Regions from separate parts of the Homo sapiens genome. Here region 2 is linked to region 1. The links are contacts of gene promoters, found by promoter capture Hi-C in human tissues and cell types (Jung and others, 2019). All regions are on one chromosome and are shown on one strand. The core of a region is centred on a gene start or on the middle of the fragment in contact, and the rest is flanking DNA. Distances in the headings are between cores, read along the strand shown. Region 1 holds the start of KNOP1 (lysine rich nucleolar protein 1). Region 2 has its middle 31 kb from the start of GPRC5B.

Region 1 (2,951 bases), core at 50-2,549:
CACCTCCCGGGTTCAAGCAATTTTCACGCCTCAGCCTCCCGAGTAGCCGGGATTACAGGCACATACCACCACGCCCGGCTAATTTTTGTATTTTTAGTAGGGACGGGGTTTTACTATGTTGGCCAGGCTGGTCTCCAACTACTGGCCTCAGGTGATCCGCCCGCCTCATCCTCCCAAAGTGCTGGGATTACAGGCATGAGCCACCACGCCCGGCCCTACTGTGCCTAATTTATAAACTTTCTCATAGATAGTATACACAAGAAAAAACAGTTATATTTAGGGTTCGGTACTGTCTGTGGTTTCAGGCATCCACTGGGGGTTTAGGAACGTACTGCCCGCGGATAATGGGGGAGGGGGACTATTGTATTGGCATTTAAATAAGTGGGCAGAGATAAAGGAGCTTGCAAAGAAGAAGGTGCAAACCTTGAAATAGTGTAGTCAGGAGAGCCAAGACGACTTCAGAATAGGGGAGCAGTCAAGAGAGCCAAGACGACTTCAGAATAGGGGAGCAGTCAAGAGAGCCAAGACGACTTCAGAATAGGGGAGTGGCCAAGAGATCTGGTAAGAACAAAGAATCCACCGGGAGGTTGCGGGTCAACTCTTAATCCCCTTCTCTCCCCATCTCTTGCCATTTAGAAAAGTATAGCATCCTCCTCTTTAGCCCTGCGACCAAATGCATTCACTCTTTCAAGGAGAAAGGAAAAGAACGTTACAGTGCATCTCCTGCAAACGCAAACGCTTTCTCCAAAACCGCTTTTAAATTCCAGGGACAGCCTTGTGAAGATCTTTGTGAATACCCGACCTCGCAAGCTCCAGAGACTACAATAATTCACTTGCCCTAGGTTCCAAAGCCAGCAAGTGGAAAACGGAGACTGGAATTCCGCCCACAGGACTCCAAAGCCTGTGCAGCAACACCCCACTCCCCCGGCAGGATCACCAGCAGGACGCGCGGGAGCCAGGAAGTAAGATCCGTACCTCCAAGGCTCCCATGGGCCCAAGCCTCCGCATCAACAGACTGGGAGGGATTACGTGGGGTCCCAGGGCCGGCTCTGAGGCGGGAAAACTTTCTGGAGGCGGCGGCCTCAGGCCGGAGCGGGCGCACACCGACTGGAGGGGTCGGATTCAGGGATGTGGGTGGACCGCATTTCCCCATCTTCCCCGCCGCGCACTTCCTCTGGTGCAATCTCCACACCCCGCGCCGGCCCGCCTGCAACGCGCCCTGGCACTCACCGGTGGGCGAAATTTCCCCGCCTCCACGTGAGAGCCAGCTCCGCCGTGACCCGGAAGTCCACTTCGAGTCGCCGGCCCACCCTCTCGGGTTCCGGCTTCTTCCGGGTCGCGGCCTTCCGGCGAACGCGGTTACCGTGGAAACCGCGGCCATGGCGGCACCGCGGCAAATCCCCAGCCACATAGTGCGCCTCAAGCCCAGCTGCTCTACAGACTCGTCGTTCACCCGGACGCCGGTGCCCACCGTGTCTCTCGCGTCCCGCGAGCTGCCTGTCTCGTCGTGGCAGGTCACCGAGCCGTCAAGCAAGAATCTGTGGGAGCAGATCTGCAAGGGTAGGAAACCTGGGCTGGCCGAGAGGGGCGGGACCCGGGCGGCCGGACGGGGGCCGCGTTTGGGGAGCGCCCACTGTGCGCCTGTCGGCTGACGGGCGGGGCCGCCGGGCAGCGGCTCCGCGGGCCCGGGCTCCGCATTTTACGCATGGGGAAACTGAGGCTCGGAGAGGCTGGCCCGAGGTTACGCAGCGCGGACTCCAATCGCGATCCGTAGTGAGGTTAAAGGCAAGGGAACGGCGAGGGAAAGCTGAATAAAGAGAACCATGCGGTGTGGACCATTGGTTCTTAAACCTCGGTTAGTGAACCGAAAGGAATTGCTGGGGCGGGGGCCGGGGTGGGGATCTTGTTATAAACGGAGGTTCCCAGGCCCCGCCCACAGAGCTTCAAATTGGGATGCAGGGAATCTGCACTTTTTAAAAGAGCACCCCAGGTAATCCTAACGTAGGTAGTCGGTGGCCCACACGTTCAGTAACCATGGTGTGGACAAACGGGTTTTAGTCCCTTCTTGCTTCAAACCTTCCTTAACCTCCCCAGGCGGAGTTGAGCACATCTTCCTTTGTGGCTCTACTCAGTATTTGTTACTTAGGTTGGGCAAATTATTTAACTTATGACCCTGTCTGCAAAGTGGGCATAATAATGGCACCTATTTCGATGGTGTTAAGAAGATGGAACCAGATAGTCACAAAAAGTGCTTAGCAAACTGCCTGATTTTAGGAGGGCAAAAGGATTATTGGGGAAAAAAAAACACAAACTGCTCGATTTACAGAAGGAGCTACGTAAGCGCTAGTTCTTAATGAATAATGTTGGGTGGGATGTTTTCTTTTTCCTCCACTAGACCATAAGCTCCTCAAGGTCAAGGACTCAGATTTTTCATTCGTGTGGCCACCATCACTACCTAAGCTGCCTGAAACAGCGCGGTGAAACCCCGTCTCTACTGAAAATACAAAAAAAAAATTATCTGGGCGTGGTGGTGTGCGCCTATAATCTCAGCTACTTGGGAGGCTGAGGAAAGGGAATTGCTTGAACCAGGGAGGTGGCGTTGCAGTGAGCCGAGTTTGCGCCACTGCACTCCAGCCTGGGTGACAGAGCGAGACTCCATCCCCAAAAAAAAAAAAGTGTGGTTAGTTAGCATTTGAAATGTGATTAGTGCAATTGAGTAACTGAATTTCTTGTTGGACTCAAATTTTTTTTTTTTTTTTTTTTTTGAGACGGCATGTTGCTCTGTCGCCCAGGCTGGAATGCAGTGGCACTGGCTGGGCTCACTGCAACCTCCGCCTCCCGGGTTCAAGCATTCTCACACCTCAATCTCCTGAGTAGCTGGGATTACAGGCACCCGTCATCATTCCTGGCTAATTTTTTTATTTTTGTAGAGAAGGGGTTTCACCATTTTG
Region 2 (2,981 bases), core at 322-2,821, 200 kb after region 1:
GCCATCTGCTGTCCTCACCAAGAGCCACAATAGTAACACCTATCATTTTAAAAGATGTTTTATTTTGCATTATTATTATTTTACTTCTTATTTTTTTGTGATAGGGTCTTGCTATGTTGCCCAGGATGAACTCAAACTCCTGGGCTCCACCAAGCCTCCAGCTTCAGTCTTCTGAGCAGCTGGGACTACTGGCATGCCCCGTGACACTCAGCTATTGTTTTTTTGTTTTCTGTTTTGTTTTTTTTTTGTTTTGAGATGGAATCTTGCTCTTGCCCAGGCTGGAGTGCAGTGGCGAGATCTTGGTTCACTGCAACCTCTGCCTCCTGGGTTCAAGTGATTCTTGTGCCTCAGCCTCCTGAGTAGCTGGAATTACAGGCATGCATCACCATGCCTGGCTAATTTTTTTTTGTATTTTTAGTAGAGGTGGGGTTTCACCATGCAGGCTGGTCTCGAACTCCTGACCTCAAATGATCCGCCTGCCTCAGCCTCCCAAAGTGCTGGGATTACAGGCTTGAGCCACTGTGCCTGTCCCATACCCAACTTTTACGTTAAGCACTAACTATGACTAACTTTTAAGCACTAAGCCAGTGAATTTGCTCGAGCCTGGAGTTACAACCTTGACTCTTGACTAGGCCACAATCACGTAAGTCTTCATGGTCAATGTGTAGCGAATCAATAATACTGTGTGCTCAATATGTGTTAGGCGCTGTGCTAACCTCCTTATATGCATTATCTCATTTAATTCACATAAGAAATCTATTATTCAAATTCTTATTCAAATAAGAAATCATACAGGTATAATTCTTGTTTTACAGGTAAGGAAGTGGAGGCTCAGGTAAGTTAAAAGACTTACCTGAGGGCTCTCAGTTGTAAAAGGTGATGTTAGAATATGAACATGGGTCTGTTTGATGCCAAGGCTTCGCCCAGAGTGGAAGGCATGCAGCTGGGTTTGCTGATGTGCCTGCGAGCCTGGGTATTTCTCCTTCCCCTGGTTCCTCATCTTCTCCCATTGAATGTGCTCCAACCATGCTGGTCTCCTTTCAGTTCTGAGAACAGACCAACCTCCTTCTTTTTATTTCTTTAATTTATTTTTATTTTTGAATAAAATAAAAATTATTTTTAATTTTATTAAAATATAATTTTTTGAATATTTTAAATATTCAAATTCGAGATGGAATCTCGCTCGTTAAATATATATATATTTATTTATTATTTTATTTTATTTTGAGACGCAGTTTTGCTCTTCTTGCTCAGGATGGAGTGCAGTGGTGCAATCTCGGCTCACTGCAACCTCTGCCTCCCAGGTTCTAGTGATTCTCCTGCCTCAGCCTCCTGAGTAGCTGGGATTACAGGAGTGTGGCACCACACCCAGCTAAGTTTTTGTATTTTTAGTAGAGAGGGGGTTTCATCATGTTGGCCAGGCTGGTCTTGAACTCCTGACTTCAGGTGATCCACCTGCCTCGGCCTCACAAAGTGCAGAGATTACAGGCGTGAGCCACCGCGCCCGGCCCACTATATTTAAAATATTCAAAAATATTTTTAAATTTTATTTTTATTTTTGAATATTTTAAAATTTATTTTATTTTTTAATATTTTTATTTTTATTTTTGAAAAATTAGTCAGCCATGGTGGTATGTGCCTGTAGTCCCAGCTACTCAGGAGGCTGAGATGGGAGGATTACCTGAGCCCAGGAGGTCGAGGCTGCAGTGAGCCATGATTGCACCACTGCCCTCCAGCCTGGGCAACAGAGTATTTTTTAAATTTATTTTTATTTTTATTCACATACCACCGCGGCTGGCTATTATTTATTTATTTATTTTGGTATTTTTTGTAGAGACGGGATCTCTCTATGTTGCCCAGGCTGGTCTCAAACTCCTGGGCGTAAGCGATCCTTCTGCCTTGGCCTCCAAAAGTGCTGGGATTACAGGTGTGAACCGCTGTGCCCCGGCCCAACCTCCTTCTCTTGGATCCTTTGTATTTGCTATTCCCTCTGCCTGGAACCTGCTCCCCACAACACTTTCACTTAATTATCTCCCGTTTATTCTCCCAGTCCATAACAGGGGCTACGTATTACCTCTCAATCATAATTTCCCCTTTTTGGTAATAAAACCCTGGGCAACTCTTTAGAGCTCACATGCCCCAGCCTCTCTTCCAGCGTGCGATATTCACGTAACTAGTTTTGGGCCAATGAGATGGATGTGGAATATTTTGTGAAACTTATGGTCAGCTCCTTAAGTGGACTGGGGAGGCGTCCCTTATGTCTCTAATGTCCTTGTCCCATGTTGTTGTCTGTGAGGCAGATGTAGTGGCTGGAGCTCTGGCAACCATCTTGGACCATGAGACAACCTTGAGGATGAAAACCACATGCTAAGGGGTATGGAGCAGAAAGACAGAAGGAGGCTGGGGTCCTGATAACTGCTGGAACTCCCAAATCAGTCCTGGGCTGCCTACTTTCTGATTTCCTGTGGAACAAGCGAAAAAAGAAGCTCTGTTTCACTAAAGCTACTAAGTCCAGCCTCTGTTACTATCAACTAAATAAAATTCCTGACAAATACCAGGTCTTGGTTTAAATATAACTTTCTGGCTGGGTGTGGTGGCTCACACCTGTAATCCCAGTACTTTGGCAGACCAAGGAGGGTGGATCACTTGAGTCCAGGAGTTCAAGACCAGCCTGATAGACATGGCGAAACCCTGTCTCTACAAAAGACGCAAAAATTAGCCGGGCATGGTGGTGTGTGCCTGTGGTCCCAGCGACTTGAGAGGCTGAGGCAGGATTGCTTGAGCCTGGGAGGTCAATGCTGCAGTTAGCTGTGATCACACCACTGCCCTGGATCCTAGGCAATAGAATGAGACTCTGTATCAAATAAATAAATAAATAAATAAATAAATAAATAAATAAATAAATAAATGTATATAAATATCACTTTCTCTGAATGGCTTATGTGAAACTCAAAATAGATCTGTCTATTTGTTCTCTCTTT

Evidence for each region. Contacts are between HindIII fragments. The study calls those that stand out against the background at their distance.
Region 2: a fragment that was not itself captured here is called in contact with the fragment with the promoter of KNOP1 in region 1 in 2 of the 25 tissues and cell types used here (adrenal gland and dorsolateral prefrontal cortex).

What each region holds. Positions count from the first base shown.
Region 1 is chr16:19,716,928-19,719,878 of GRCh38, forward strand. It overlaps KNOP1 (lysine rich nucleolar protein 1), which reads right to left and starts at 1,300. Exons shown (of 5, transcript NM_001012991.3): 1 at 1,231-1,300. IQCK (IQ motif containing K) reads left to right here and starts at 1,344. Exons shown (of 9, transcript NM_153208.3): 1 at 1,344-1,560. The coding sequence starts at 1,380. RefSeq lists an enhancer at 1,224-1,553. The HindIII fragment of the contact is 15,091 bases long and covers 1-2,951 here.
Region 2 is chr16:19,913,973-19,916,953 of GRCh38, forward strand. No RefSeq gene overlaps it. Among named protein-coding and RNA genes, the nearest start is that of GPRC5B, 31 kb to the left of the region's middle. The HindIII fragment of the contact is 7,764 bases long and covers 1-2,981 here.